Linked DNA regions of Homo sapiens: region 1 is linked to region 2. Evidence: promoter capture Hi-C in 16 types of primary human blood cells and fetal thymus (Javierre and others, 2016). All regions are on one chromosome and are shown on one strand. Each heading gives the region's core, a stretch centred on a gene start or on the middle of the fragment in contact. The rest is flanking DNA. Distances are from core to core; before and after follow the strand shown. Region 1 overlaps COPS8 (COP9 signalosome subunit 8). Region 2 holds the start of PRLH (prolactin releasing hormone).

The links. The method cuts DNA at HindIII sites, captures the fragments that hold promoters and counts their contacts. A CHiCAGO score of 5 or more calls a contact.
Region 1: a fragment that was not itself captured here is called in contact with the fragment with the promoter of PRLH in region 2 in 1 of 17 cell types (endothelial precursors); the score reaches 6.6 in endothelial precursors.

What each region holds. Positions count from the first base shown.
Region 1 is chr2:237,093,035-237,099,789 of GRCh38, reverse strand. COPS8 (COP9 signalosome subunit 8) reads right to left here. Exons shown (of 8, transcript NM_006710.5): 5 at 5,593-5,700; 6 at 3,906-3,968; 7 at 2,921-2,968; 8 at 1-2,127. The coding sequence ends at 2,048. Among named protein-coding and RNA genes, the nearest start is that of COPS8, 11 kb to the right of the region's middle. The HindIII fragment of the contact is 1,129 bases long and covers 2,182-3,310 here.
Region 2 is chr2:237,564,991-237,572,325 of GRCh38, reverse strand. It overlaps PRLH (prolactin releasing hormone), which reads right to left and starts at 5,752. Exons shown (of 2, transcript NM_015893.1): 1 at 5,653-5,752; 2 at 5,151-5,314. The coding sequence starts at 5,752. The coding sequence ends at 5,151. RefSeq lists a silencer at 48-233. The HindIII fragment of the contact is 5,293 bases long and covers 3,961-7,335 here.

The sequences.
Region 1 (6,755 bases), core at 1,497-3,996, 470 kb after region 2:
CTTACTGCCCTGGAACTATTAGCTGTTTTGCAAATAAGTTCTGATTCCTTTTAATTGCAAATGAAAATGAAAGAACACCATCTGGGTACTAGTGGTGCTCATTGTTACTGAACTGTAATTACTCTAGACCTTTTCATGTAGACAGGAGTGGGAAATATTTACTGTTTACAAAGAAAAATAAAGCATATAATGAGGTTTCCATGTCAAATTTAAGATTACTGGGGTCTAATGTTACATGATTATTAATTTAATCTATACTTTTAATAATAAAAAAGATATCAAGATTTTGTGAAATTAATCATGAAAAACCACATTCATTAGTCTAAGATTTTTTTCTGTCCTTAGTGTATATCCCACTGACAATGTAAAATTGAAATATTGTGTTTGATCACTTGAGATTATTTTTTCTCTATGTAGTAGTTCACTGTCCTCTCCTTCCTCTTTAGGGAACTATTATATTCATTTTGTATATATCCCCCAATTGCTTAGTTTTGAAATATAAGGAAATATGTACATATATATAATTGTAATCATTCTCCTTTTGTTACCCTCAAAATAACCATATAAACTACATGTGCTTTCTATGTTCTCACTCTGGAGATCATTCCAGTTTAGTATAGAGATCTTCACTCCTTTTACACCTGCGTAGTCTACACTGCTGTTTATTCAAACAATCCCCTATTAATGAATATTTGGATTGACTCTAATCTGCTTTTAAAAAATAACCATGGATACAATTTGTACTTAATACCTGGAAGTTAAAAAAACTGGCACTGTCATTCTCTTGATCACTCTCCTGATCCTCTGACTTCTTGAATTCCCATTTCCTCAACTGTAAAACAAGGAATTTTAATATGACTTACCTATCCGGGTTAAATAAAATTGCAATTCAAAAAGTATTCCCATATATGTTAAGAAAAACTGAAATAGCCACTAAAATGCATTCAAAATAAATAAATTATATAATTATCACTACACAGATTCACCATACAACTCATTTCTACTTAAGAGATTCATATAGACACAATGACAAAATAGATTGTGTCCACAGAAAGATCGAGAGTGAAATTTCCAGAAACTATCTTAGATGAAATAATTGAAGAATTCAGTTAAATATTTATTGAACAAATGCAGAGTAAATGAACTAAGGGCTGTTATAACCTTAAGTTACAACAAACAACTTCAAATATTCAGAGGGCTGTCACACAGAGAATGAAAGACTTGCTCAGTATTTCTCCAAAGGGCAGAACTTGAGCCAAGCGATAAATATAAGCAACCAATGGGCTGCAGGATAGTTGTACAAAGTGTATCATGTATCTTCATAGCTTCTTTGCCCATATAATGCATTCCACACTTAAGTTTCTCCTTCTAAAAGGCGACAGCACAAGTTAATATGTCTCATAAATGTCTTAAATAAGTTGCATTTTCATGGCAAGCCCTCCACTGCCAGCAATGGATATACTCACACTATTGGAAAAAATCTAAAGTTAACAAACTGGTTTAGTATGGAAATGGTCTATTTGTTCCTCAGCTATGTTTCTGTATCTTACATTAGTGGCTCTCAGGAGGTGGGGGGTGAAAAGAGAGCATGTTCTCCAAAGAGGGTGAATCATAATCCCCAGTGATTCAGATACTGTGCCTGGGGACAATCTTTCTTCAAGTCCAAATGAATCATTATAATTATCAACCAATGGTACATATAAGAGTACGGCATGTGCTGGGACAGAGAAAAGACAGTTGACAAACACTATTCTACATGAAACAGGAAATCTTATTTTATGAGTCACTAGAAAACTAACTGTAATACTGACAGGCTCCATCCAGATTATTAAATACTACAAAATGAGAACTGTTTCAACAACTATTCAGCATAACGTTTATGGACAAAATGTATATAGTATATCTTATATTCTATATGTATTTTATCACATAGTAAGGAATGCTGAGGTGCTTAAGCCATCCAATAAATTGAAAATACAAACTTTACATTTCTACGTTTGTCAGTATACAGGATTCTGAAGATGAATCTTGAACTCAGAGTGATAAATCAGTTTTCAAGGAAAGCCACATAATCCGTCAGTCTGGCTAACTGCTGTTCATTGGGTATTGGGGGAACTGGAGCAGGCTCTGTATGTTAAAGAAACAAACACACTTCATGTTACATACCACAGTAACAAAGCTTTGGCCCCAACACCTACCTCCCCTAATGCCTTCAATTTTTAACAGTAAGTTAACTTTCTTAGATTTGTCCTGGTTTTAGACAAAATCTTACATCATAGAGGCTTGGACATTTTTGAAAAGCAAGCCAAGAAGTTGCAACTTTTATGAGTATGGTTTTACCTAACTGCTAGTAAAGGCATGTCTCATGTTGTTGTTACTGAAGTATTCTATGTAAAGGTTAAAGACACTTTTATCATGCAACATGTCTTTTAAAAGATCACAGCTCTTCTTGAAAACATCCTTACCCATGCAACATTAAATTCAAGAAATAGAGTGCTTCCCATGCCCCAGACATCACTGAAGAATATTAAATTGTCAACAAACCAAAAAAAAAAAAAAAAAAAAGAAAACCCACAAAGAACCTCAAGGAATTTACATTCCAACATTTAAATTACTACACGTCAGCCTGGGGACGCCTTCTGAATAACAGTACTGGTGAACAGCTCTGGCAGGCCTCCCTGACATGAGAATAAGAAGGCTCTGCAGCTGGCCCAGAGGAGGGCACCGCCTCAAGGCAAGCTCTGGGGGAGCCCAGTTTCACTCTTGTAACCAGATGTATTACTACGCATTTATGAAATTTAACCTCTGTTTACAAGGTAAGAAATAGATACACACACTCACACACACATATACATATATACTACAAAAAAGAAATTAGGAACAATGAGACATTAAAAAATGTGCATATGAAAATACATACCTGATAAGGGAATAAACTTGTTAAAGGAAACATCCAGGGCCCCTGCAACTAAATTCAAAAAAAAAATGTACAGCTCAATTTACAGAAGTCATTGTAAAGATCTTTCATAGAACATGCTATTTTCAGCACAACATGCATTTAACGGCCATTTATTTCTCAAACAGGGATAACAACTGTGCTCCATTATAATTCTTTATTATATTACTCTTCCCCCACTATCTCACTTGACTGGGATCATGTCTTCTCACTCTTTGTAACTCAAAGGGCTGAGCACATTGAGAATCCTTTACTGTATGTTCAGCAATGTCTAAACATAGGCATTCCGAGTAGGTGGAAGGAAATTTGGGCTGACGTGGATGAAGGCGGGTTTATGGAAGTGGGCATTAAGCTTGGCTCTAAAGACCTGGCAGAAAAGACACTCCTGGTCAGCAGGAGGAAGAGAAACTATCAGGCGGGAATGAGTGTGGCTCACTTCCAACAGGAAGACTGAGGGGCTGGGAATTCAGATAAAGACAATGAGGGCAGGTCATAGAAATTAAGGCCTTAAAAGGAGGGCTAGAGAAGTTAACTCTGTGAAAGTGGAAGCCACAGGAAAAGTGCCTGTATGACTTGAGTGCAAACAGAAAAGGGGGGCAGTTGAATATTTAAACATTTTTTTTTAATACAGACAACAGCTTGGATATGAAGGATAAGCTCAGTTACAAATGGCTCCATAAAAGGATGGAGATTAATATTTAGTAAAAACTAAGGTGTAAGGACCATGAAAAACCTACGTAAAATCATTTATATACAGGAAATACATTTTTAAGAGTTTAAACTAGGTGATCCTTTCTACCCCGTCTACTACGCTTTATTTAAAATGAGTTATTTCCATTGTGTTAGTATAGCCGAATTTTACATCCAATTATCAAAAACCAAAGACTGAAAACCTGAAGCAGTCTTAGAAGAGTCCAGTGCTGCGTAAATGGGTGAAAGCTCCACCTACCTGGCTTTCTGGGCAGAACCATTCTTGTGGTGGAATCAGCTTGCCATCCTTGTTCTAATATGCCTAAAAAAGTATATTACACATAAAGATCCGGAAAGAATAAAACACCCCACAAAATCCACAACTTGTCCATGACATTAGTTGTACAGAAGACCTGATGTGTTTAGTATAACCCGTCATATGCATTTTTACTAGAAAGGTATATTACAAAGAGCATGGAAACTTATTATTGAAATATTTCTGAAACAGGTATCAAAGCCTCATTTTACTCTATTAGGTTGCTATAATCATTAAAAGATGGTTAGTTTTCTGTCAAGAATATATTATAGTATTAACCTAATCAGTATTATTTAAAACAAACAGAAGGAAAACTGATATGGCGCCTTTTGTGACCATCATATCAGTAATAACAAAGATGGCAATAATAAAAACAGCTTCCATATATGGAAGGTTTACCTGTAGGTACCAGACTACGTGCTTTTATAGGGATGATTTTATGTAATCACCACAACTCTATGAAGTGGGATATAGGGCCATCGTTTGACAGGTATGGAAAATAAAGTTGAGGGAAATTCAAGTGATTTGTCCTAAGTCACATAGCCACTAGCATCAGGGACGGGTGGTACCAGCATTCACATCCAGGTGGTCAGCTGAGAATACGAGCTCTGAAGTATGTTATATATAGAAAATAAATGATGGACCAATTTTAAGAGCCAAAAGAAATAAATGTTTGTATGAGTAAATAAAAGTAATAACTTAGAACTTTCATTAACCTATCTTCATGTATCTACAACTATGCTAGGCCCTGGAAATTTAGGATGTAGTGCGTGATGGTGCTCATATTTTAGCTGGAGAATCAAAAATGTCAATCATGGCAAAACAATGCAACAAGGTGTATACGATATATATATATATTTTTGATATGGAATCTCACTGTGTTGCCCAGGCTAGAGTGCAGTGGCACAGTCTCAGCTCACTGCAACCTCCACCTCCTGGATTCATGCGATTCTCCTGCCTCAGCCTCCTGAGTAGTTGGGATTACAGGTGCCTGCCACCACACCTGGCTAATTTTTTGTATTTTTAGTAGAGACGGGCTTTCACCATGTTGGCCAGGCTGGTCTCGAACTCCTGACCTCATCATGATCCACCCGCCTCGGCCTCCCAAAGTGCTGGGATTACAGGTGTGAGCCACTGCACCTGGCCAGGTGTATACAGTATTCTATAACAACGAGCAACAGGAAGGATTAGTCTGGGCATCAGCTGAGAAATGAAAATGCAAAGTTACATTTGGAGAGACCAGCAGGTATGAGTGGGGAGCAAGCAAGCGCCTAGGGTATGGGTCAGAAATGGCAGGGAAAATGAAAAGGGACGTGGGGATGATGCTGCCTTTATCAAATAAGGGTGAAATAAGGATTTCCAAATATGAGTAAAGAGACCAATTAAGACATATTTTTGTAACCAACTGTGTGGATACTCACACATTTGCTTGCTATAGAACTATTAATATGCTTGACTGCAGGGTGCCTGCTGGGTGTTCCACAACACCTGTTTCATATCACCTCTCAAAAAACACAGCCTGGACTCCAAAAGCATATTCTGTTCCAAGTGTTTCAGAGGAGACTGTGAACCTACAATTCACACTTCTATTTTCCATTTTCCTTATAAGTAAAAAGTAAGCCAAAATTACCTTTCACAGCCTCTTCTACAGGAAGTCCAACAAAGGCTGCAAAATCATCGGCGATGATTGAAGTATACGCTTGAGAGACCAGGGCAAAGGCGCGTCTCCTTGTTGCATCTATTGTGGGAGTGGTGGGTTGGCAGAGAGTGAACCAGGGAGCAGCATTTTCAAAGCACATTGTTAAATCACACCACTGTCCTTGTCTAGTTTTCATAAGCAAGGCCAGATGAACCCAAAGATTTCTGTGCTTATAGATACAAATACATATGCCCAGTATGTACGGGGGGTTCAAATATTGCTGGAAAAAAATACATTTCTTACACTTCCTCTTGGATGAAAAATCTCAGATAATGAAAATTACAAAGATGGAAAAAGGTTACTAAACACAAGGCTCTAACCCTAAGAAAATGCAGTATGTTTATGCAATGGGGATATAAATTTTACTTATCTTATTTCATTTACAAATGCTGGAATCAAAGGAGCAGAAAACTGATTTGCGTAATCAGCTGTCCTTTTCAAAAACGTCTCTAATACAGGACCACACCTGGGAGTTACAGAACAAATCTTGTAACTGGAGCATTCTTCCAAGTCTGCATCAAACTCTTGACTGAATTAAGGTTCAAAATCCTAAATTCCCACCTTGAAAGAATGACTCTAAGAAGGGACTGCCAAACAATACCAGCAACGAAAACTTTCCTGAAAGTGGCATTTAGGATTGTCCCCAGGCTTCCATACCCAATTAAATAAACTCAGGAGTACGGTAGAGTTGAGCACTGTGAAACCAGCTGGCCTTTCTCCCTGGGCATTGCTCATTGGTAATGCAAGAGCTCCTCCACCTGGTGGTCAACATGCTTAGGAAATATTCTGGATTTTACTTTCCATATTTAATAGGCCAGTGTACATATGTAAAACAAACACCCTAACATATTTAAAATCTTCTCTCCATTCCTGGGACATTGTCAAACTACACCAATTCCCCCAGATACCCTTTGTGCCAAACGAGTCCACTGGCTCTCAGACAAGTCTTACACCTTCTCCCCCTGGGGCTTTTGGTTTATGCTATCCCGTGGCCTGAAATGCCCTCCTGTCTGCTCTCTACCATTCCTAAGTCTGTTTATAATTCATTACGATCTCTGCCCTTCTCTAAACTCAGCAGTATTGTTTACACTTCT
Region 2 (7,335 bases), core at 4,503-7,002:
CGCGATGATTCCCTTGCCGATGAAGAACATGAAGTGTGAGTCCCTAGTGTGCTAGGCTGTGTCCTCGCGCCCTGTGCCCCCGCAGCGGGCCCTCAGCCGGGGTGGGGACCCAGCTTGCGGGCGGCAGGAGGCTGAGGTTGCCCGTGGCCACCAGATGGCGCTCCAGCATTGTGGAAGGCAAGCCCCACGGTCCTGGCGTCCGGAGTGCTTGCTCTGCTGAAGGGCGAACCAGGAGGCTCTCAGAGGAGCTGCAGAGGAGCGGCTTGATGACATAGAAGGGGAAGAATACAAGGGAAGTTTGTAGGATGCCTGTAGGTCTGACTGCCTGCTTCCCCCTCTGTTTTGACGACCTCCTGTGACTATGCCAGCATTTATTATTAAAATGTGTCCTTTGACTCCTTCAGGAATCATTTCATGGCCTCCCCAAGAGTGGACAGATCTGTGGTGGTCCTGGAACCCTGGGTCTCCCAGGACTGTGACTGCCCCTTTCCCCTCCTCCCTCACCACTAGGCAGGTGGGGCTCAACCCTGTGCTGGAGTCACCTGCGGAGCTTCGGAAAGCCCCACACCGGGGCAGGGTGCGGTGGCTCATGCCTGTAATCCTGGCACTTCGGGAGGCCGAAGCGGGAGGACCACTTGAGGCCAGGAGTTTGTGACCAGCCTGGGCAACAAAGGGAGACCCTGTTTCTACAAAAAGCAAAACAAAAAATTAGCTGGGTATGATGGTGCACACTTGTAGTCCTGGCTACCCTGGAGGCTGAGGTGGGAGGATTGCTTAGGCCTCGGGGGTCGAGGCTGCAGTGAGCCATGATCAAGCCACTGCATTCCAGCCTGGGCACCAGAATGAGACCCCATCTCAAAAAAAAAAAAAAAAAAAATGGAGCGCCTCAGCTGCATATCACCCAGAGGTTCTGATTCCATCAGACTGCCCAGGGATTTCTAAATCCTTCCAGGTGAGCATAGGTGAGGCTGAGAACCTCAGTGAGGGCAGGGCCTCTGTCTGTCCTGATTTCTGTGGGATTCCCAGGGTCCTCTACACTGTCTGGCACACACCAGGCACTCAACACATGTGTATCCAACAAAGGGAGGAAAGCATGTTTTTTTTCCCCAGAGACCTAAAGAACAGGCAGGCTTTCCTGAAAACAGCCCCCGCCGCCCCTGACACCTGCGTGTGGAAGACTCACCTGTGTCAGTGCTCCACCACCTTATCTTCCTGTCCCGAAACGGGGCTGGGGTGGGGCAGCAGGCAGGAAGGCCCTATTTCTGCAAGCACACAGGGAGAGGCCCCAGCAGGGCTGCAGACATTTGTGTCGCAGATGATTCAGGATAAATGGGTCCAGGACCCCACTGGCCCCAGATCCTGGGAGAAGCTGGTCCATGTACCCACTGTCCAGGCTGCTGCTGGGGAAGCAGCTCCAGCCCTGCTTAGCCTGAGTTCGGACCTGGGTCTTCTCGTGAGCTGTTGTTTGCCTGTGGGGGGTGGTGGTGGATGCCGGAGGCATGGCAATGTTGATGAGTGGCCCTGGGAGCCCCTGCCATCCCAGCCTGTGATGCTAACCTTTTCTTCTCTCTCTCTTTCTCTTTTTTTTTTTTTTTGTTTTGAGACAGAGTTTTGCTCTTGTCACCCAGGCTGTAGTGCAGTGATGGGATCTCAGCTCACTGCAGACTCTGCCTCCTAAGTTCAAGTGATTCTCTTGCTTCAGTCCCAAGTAGCTGGCACTACAGGCGCCCGCCACCACACCTGGCTAATTTTTGCATTTTTAGTAGAGATGGGGCTTCACCAGGCTGGTCTCGAACTCCTGACCTCAAGTGATCCGCCCATCTCGGCATCCCAAAGTACTGGGATTACAGGTGTGAGCCACCGTGCCCGCCCTGTCTTGTTTCCTCTTGAGTATGTTCCCATCCCATTCTTCTGATGGGTCTGCGTTTCCCAGAGTGGCTGACTCACAGAACTATTCTTTTTAATTTTTTTAAAATTTATTCCCTGTTTAGGACTCCCACTGGCCAAATTTAGGCCAATTCGAGTGTCAAAAATTATAAAGTTCTGAAAAAAAAGAAAAAAAGAAATATCTTCTCTGGAAGAATCCAACTAATGACTGTGGAAGGAATTAGAGAATCACCATGGTGTGGGGGTGACTGGTGGTGCAGCAGCTGAGCCTGGCATGGGTAGTCAGGGGACACTGACATCTCAGGCCGCAAGCTGGCTGGGAAACAGGATTTGGCCATGGGGCCCTGGCCCCAGCACAGATTTCACATTGATCACACAGGGAAAAAACCTCTTACAATGAAGAGATCTGTCTCTACCACAGGGTCAAATAGCACTGTCAGAGAGGGAGCCCAGGATCCCATGGTCAGATATGATGCAGTGGGAAGGACACAGTTTTTGGGTCCACAGTGCGCGACCTGAATCCAGGCAAGATCCTGGATGCCCCTCTCTGATGACAGGAAGTACAGGGAACGGAAGAACAGGGACATCACCTTGGGGGAACAACTTACAAATCACACAGGTGGAGCATTTTCCAAGACGACTCATCTGGGTGCTTGAAAAATTCAACACCAGGACAACATAAAAAATTAACTGGTCGGAAATCAAAGAGAAACAACGGACTGTGAATGCAGATTGGAGCCCGGTGGGGGAAAAAGGAGACTGTCTTGCTGCATGTGGGGATTTCTGAGTACAGACTAAAAACTAGATGATATTGTGAAATTACTACAACGGTTTGTTCAGGTATGATGATTTTATGGCTATGTAGGAGACTGGCCTTATTCGTGGGAGAAGGATGCTGAAAATATGCTTCTAGTACATTCACTCTGTTCTTCAGCCACTGCCGTGGTCCAGTTCTAAGACGTTTCACCACCTCCAAAAGGGAACCCCCATATCCATTAAGCAGTCATCCCCCCACCCCTCTTCCCTATCCCCTGACAGCCATGAATCTGCTTCCATAGAATATGCAATGTCATACAACGTTTTTATATAAACAGAATCATACAACATTTGAATTCTTGTGCCTGGCTTCTTTCACTTAGCATGATGCTTCCAAGGTTCATCCGTGTTGTGGCATGTATCAGTGGTCCATTCCTTTTCCTGGCTGAGTAATATTCCATTGCATGGATAGACCACGCTGTGTTTTTCTATTCTTCTGTTGATGGGTGTTATGAAATGTTTGTGTCCCCGCCACTGCAAATTTATATGTTGAAATCCTCCCCCCATTATGGTGGTATTAGGAGATCGGGTCTTTGGGAGGAGATTAGGTCATGAAGGTGGAACCCTCATGGATGAAATTAGTGCCCTCATAAGAAGAGGCTAGAGAGCTTGCTTCCTGTTTCTGCTCTCTGCCATGTGAGGATACAACGAGAAGACGGTGTCTGTCAACCAGGAAGATGGTGTCGGATCAAGGTGTCGGATCAGCCAGCACCTTGATCTTGGACTTCCTGCCCCCAGAACTGTGAGGAGTGAGTGTTTACTGGCTGAGCCTCTGTGCCTATGCTATCTTATTAGAGCAGCCCGAACTGACTAAGGCAATGGGCATTCAGGTCATGTCCACCCTTTGGCTACTTGGAAGGGTGCTGCTGTAAACGCTGCTGTGATGTGCTGAGCACCTGCCCTCAGTTCTCCAGGGTCTACACCTGGGGCGAATTGTTGGGTCGTTTGATAACTCCGTGTTTAACTTTTTGAGGGCTGTGGCCTCTTTAAGGCCTGACCCAGCCCCTGCTGCCTTCGGAACAGACCTTGCCCCCCTTCCTGTTCCTGCAGGCTCACTCTACCCTGGCGAGGTGGCTCAGGGCTGGAGGGGCTCCCCTGTAGCTGGGGAGGTGCAGTCACCCCAACTCAGCCCCGTGTAGGTGGTCTGGGCCTTGCCACTGGCCCCTCTGAGCATGGATGGCCAAGAGGGCTGTGGTCAGGATGGGCTCCTGAGATCAGCATCTGCAGGCAGGGTCCAGCAAGAGTCCAGGCCAAGCTTTGGGTTGGAGGGAGCTGGTGAAGCCTGTTACATGGCTGGGTGGAGGATGGGCCTTGGGGAAGGGGCTTGCACTCACAGAGCACCCACCCTGTGCCGGCAGGCGTGCAGGTGCCACGCCCACGGAGCTGAGGAATGAGGTAAGCGTTGCTGTTCTGTGGCATGCAGTTGTGGAAACTGAGGCTCAGTGATTCACGGGATGAACTCAGTCTCCCAGGTGGTGCAAGTGTGCCCCCAATGCCAACCTAAGCTACACCTGAGGCAGGATGTGGAGACATCCCCGTGTGATTTGAAAGGGACGCACGTGGCGTGGGAGCAATCTAGGTTCAAGTCTCCCTGCCATGGGTCAGAAACAATCCATGATGCATCTTCCCTGAGTAAGAGGGAGGCAAGACAGACTGCAATGAGAGGACTAGCAGTTGTAGGGGTTGCGGGGTGCAGGGATGAGTAGGGGGAGCCCAGAGGACTTCTAGGACAGTTAAACGACTCTGCGTGATGCCACATCGTGTTGTTGTACATTTGTGCAAACCCACAGGACGCACAGCGTGGAGAGTGGGCTCTGACATACGCTGGTTGGGGATGGGGATGTGTCAGTGTGGGTTCCTCGACTGGGACAAAAGCACCCTCGGTGGGGGTGTTGATCATGGGGGAGGCTGTGCGGATGTGGGGGAAGGGGGTGGATGGGAACTTTCTGTACCTTCTACTCAATTTTGCTGTGAACCTAAAGCTGCTCTGAAAAATAGTCTAAATAAAAAGGACTGAAGTTGAGGGGCTGCCCAGGGCTCAGGCTGGGGGCTGTGCTACCGTCCTATGGGGACAGTGTCCTGCAGAGTATGACGCGTGGCACCTCCTGGCCTTCTGCAGTGGACAGCCTGGGCAGCCACTCAGGGCAGCTTGGGTGTGGGGGTGGCTGTGGGCTGCCGGTGACCAAGGGTAGACCCAGCGCCCCAACTCAGTGCCAAGTGCCCTCTGCCAAGTCACAAAGCCTTTTCTTCCAAAGAAGTTGCTGGGCTCTGAGGTTCTTTCTAGTCTAATGTCCCAGGAGGGAACAACTTCAGAGTCACCACCACACAGTCGTGAATGTGTAACTGAAGACCAGAGCTTTTATTAGGATTGAAGGGAAAGGAGCCCGAAGGAGAGGAGAGGGTGGGGTGGGGGAGGCTCCAGAGTGAGTTTCTTGACAAGCTGGCTGTCAGCCATCCTGGGACGACATAGCACCGCCTTCCAGGGGGAAGCAGGTCAGCCGGGGTCGCAGGCCAGGCTTGGGGACGTCCCCCAGGGTTGCCCTCCTCCGACCGAAGCGGCCCACAGGCCTGATCCCGCGACTGGCGTACCAGGCAGGATTGATGTCAGGGGCTGGAAAGGAAAGAGCTGGAGCAGACCATGGGCACGTGTCCCCAGGGTGTGCTGTGCTCCCAGAGGCAGCGGGGCAGAGTGCACAGGCAGGGCCTCTCAGCCCAGTCGCCAGGCCATGCTGGGAGCCACCCGAGGAACAGGCACCCAGAGGTTCTGGCGAGGCCATTTCTGGGCGTGGGCTGGCTTTGGGAAGCAGGAGTTCAAAAAAGCACCAAGACTGACTTCCCTTTCCTCCCGCGCACCCCGTTCCTGCCAGGTTCTCGAGCGACCAGGCTGCACTAGGTTCTGGGGTGAGGCAGGGTGGGGTAAGGGAGGCTGACAGGGGTCCAGGCACTCACTGCGGATCTCCATGGAGTGCCGATGGGTACGACTTGCAGCTCCCCGCAGGGCCAGGCCCAGCATCAGCAGGCACAGGAGCCAGGCCCTCAGCACCTTCATCCCTTGGCTCCTCCGAGGAGGCCCCGCTGGAGGGGAGATCCAAATGAGGAGGACACGGCCTGGGGGAGAAGGGGCAGGAGCAGCGTCACACAGGCATCAGGGTGCGTGTGCACGGAGCTGGGACCTTGGGTAGAGTGAGCACTGTGTGTGAGAGAGAAGTATGTGCATGAGCCTGTGTGCATGTGAGTGCACAGCTGTGTATGTATATGTGTACAAGAGGGTGTGGTGTGTGCACATGGGTGCCTGTGTGTGTGTATGTGTGCAGATATGTGTGTGTATGTGTGTAGATGTGTGTATGTGTGCAGGTGTGTGTGTATGTGTGTAGATGTGTGTGTATGTGTGCAGATGTGTGTGAGTGTATGTGTGTAGATGTGTGTATGTGTGCAGATGTGTGTATGTGTGTAGATGTGTGTGTATGTGTGTAGATGTGTCTGTGTGTATTGTGTAGATGCGTGTGTATGTGTGCAGATGTGTCTGTGTGTAGATGTGTGTATGTGTGTAGGTTTGTGTGTATGTGTGTAGATGTGTGTGTATGTGTGCAGATGTGTGTGAGTGTGTGATGTGTGTATGTGTGCAGATGTGTGTGTGTGTAGATGTGTGTGTATGTGTGTAGTGTGTCTGTGTGTATTGGGTAGATGCGTGTGTATGTGTGCAGATGTGTCTGTGTGTAGATGTGTGTATGTGTGTAGGTTTGTGTGTATGTGTGTAGATGTGTGTGTGTAGATGTGTGTATGTGTAGGTGTGTGTAGTTGTGTGTGAGTGTATGTATGTGTGTGGATGTGTGTGTAGTTGTGTGAGTATGTGTGTAGATGTGTGTGTATGTGTAGATGTGTGTGTAGCTGTGTGTGTGTGTATGTGTGTAGATGTGTGTATGTGTGTAGATATGTGTGTAGATGTGTGTGTGTCGATGTGTGTGTGAGTGTGTGTAGATGTGTATGTGTGTAGGTGTGTGAGTGTACATGTGTAGATGTGTGTGTGAGTGTATGTGTGTATGAGTGTAGGTGTGTGAGTGTATGTGTGTAGATGTGTGTATGTATGTGTGTAGATGTGTATGTGTGTAGATGTGTGTGTAGATGTGTGTGTGTACGTGTGTAGATGTGTGTGAGTGTGTGTAGATGTGTATGAGTGTAGATGTGTGTGTATGTGTGTAGATGTGTGTGTAGTTGTGTGTGAGTGTATGTATGTGTGTAGATGTGTGTGAGTGTGTAGATGTGTATGTATGTGTGTAGATGTGCGCGTGCACATAGCCACATAGATCTCCACGTGTTCCTCTGATCTGTGCTGAGGTGGGAATAAGCACAGAAACAGCAGTTAAACCTGGCTCTCTGCATGGTCCCCCACCCGCCTGTGACCCCATTCTCTCCTCTGCGCAATGAGGTGTTAAGTGAGATGCTTCTGTGCGCGTCAGCCTCTAACGGGATCGGTCACATGTACATTGATGCTCATGATCAGAAAGCCCTCAGGAGGTGTGAGCTACGCGTTATAAAGGGGGGCTGTCATGGAACAGCCTTGGGTCCGTCTGTCCGCCTGTGTTAAGGGATCAGAAGGTGCAGCAGGCCTCTGCACGGCTGTGCATGTTGCAC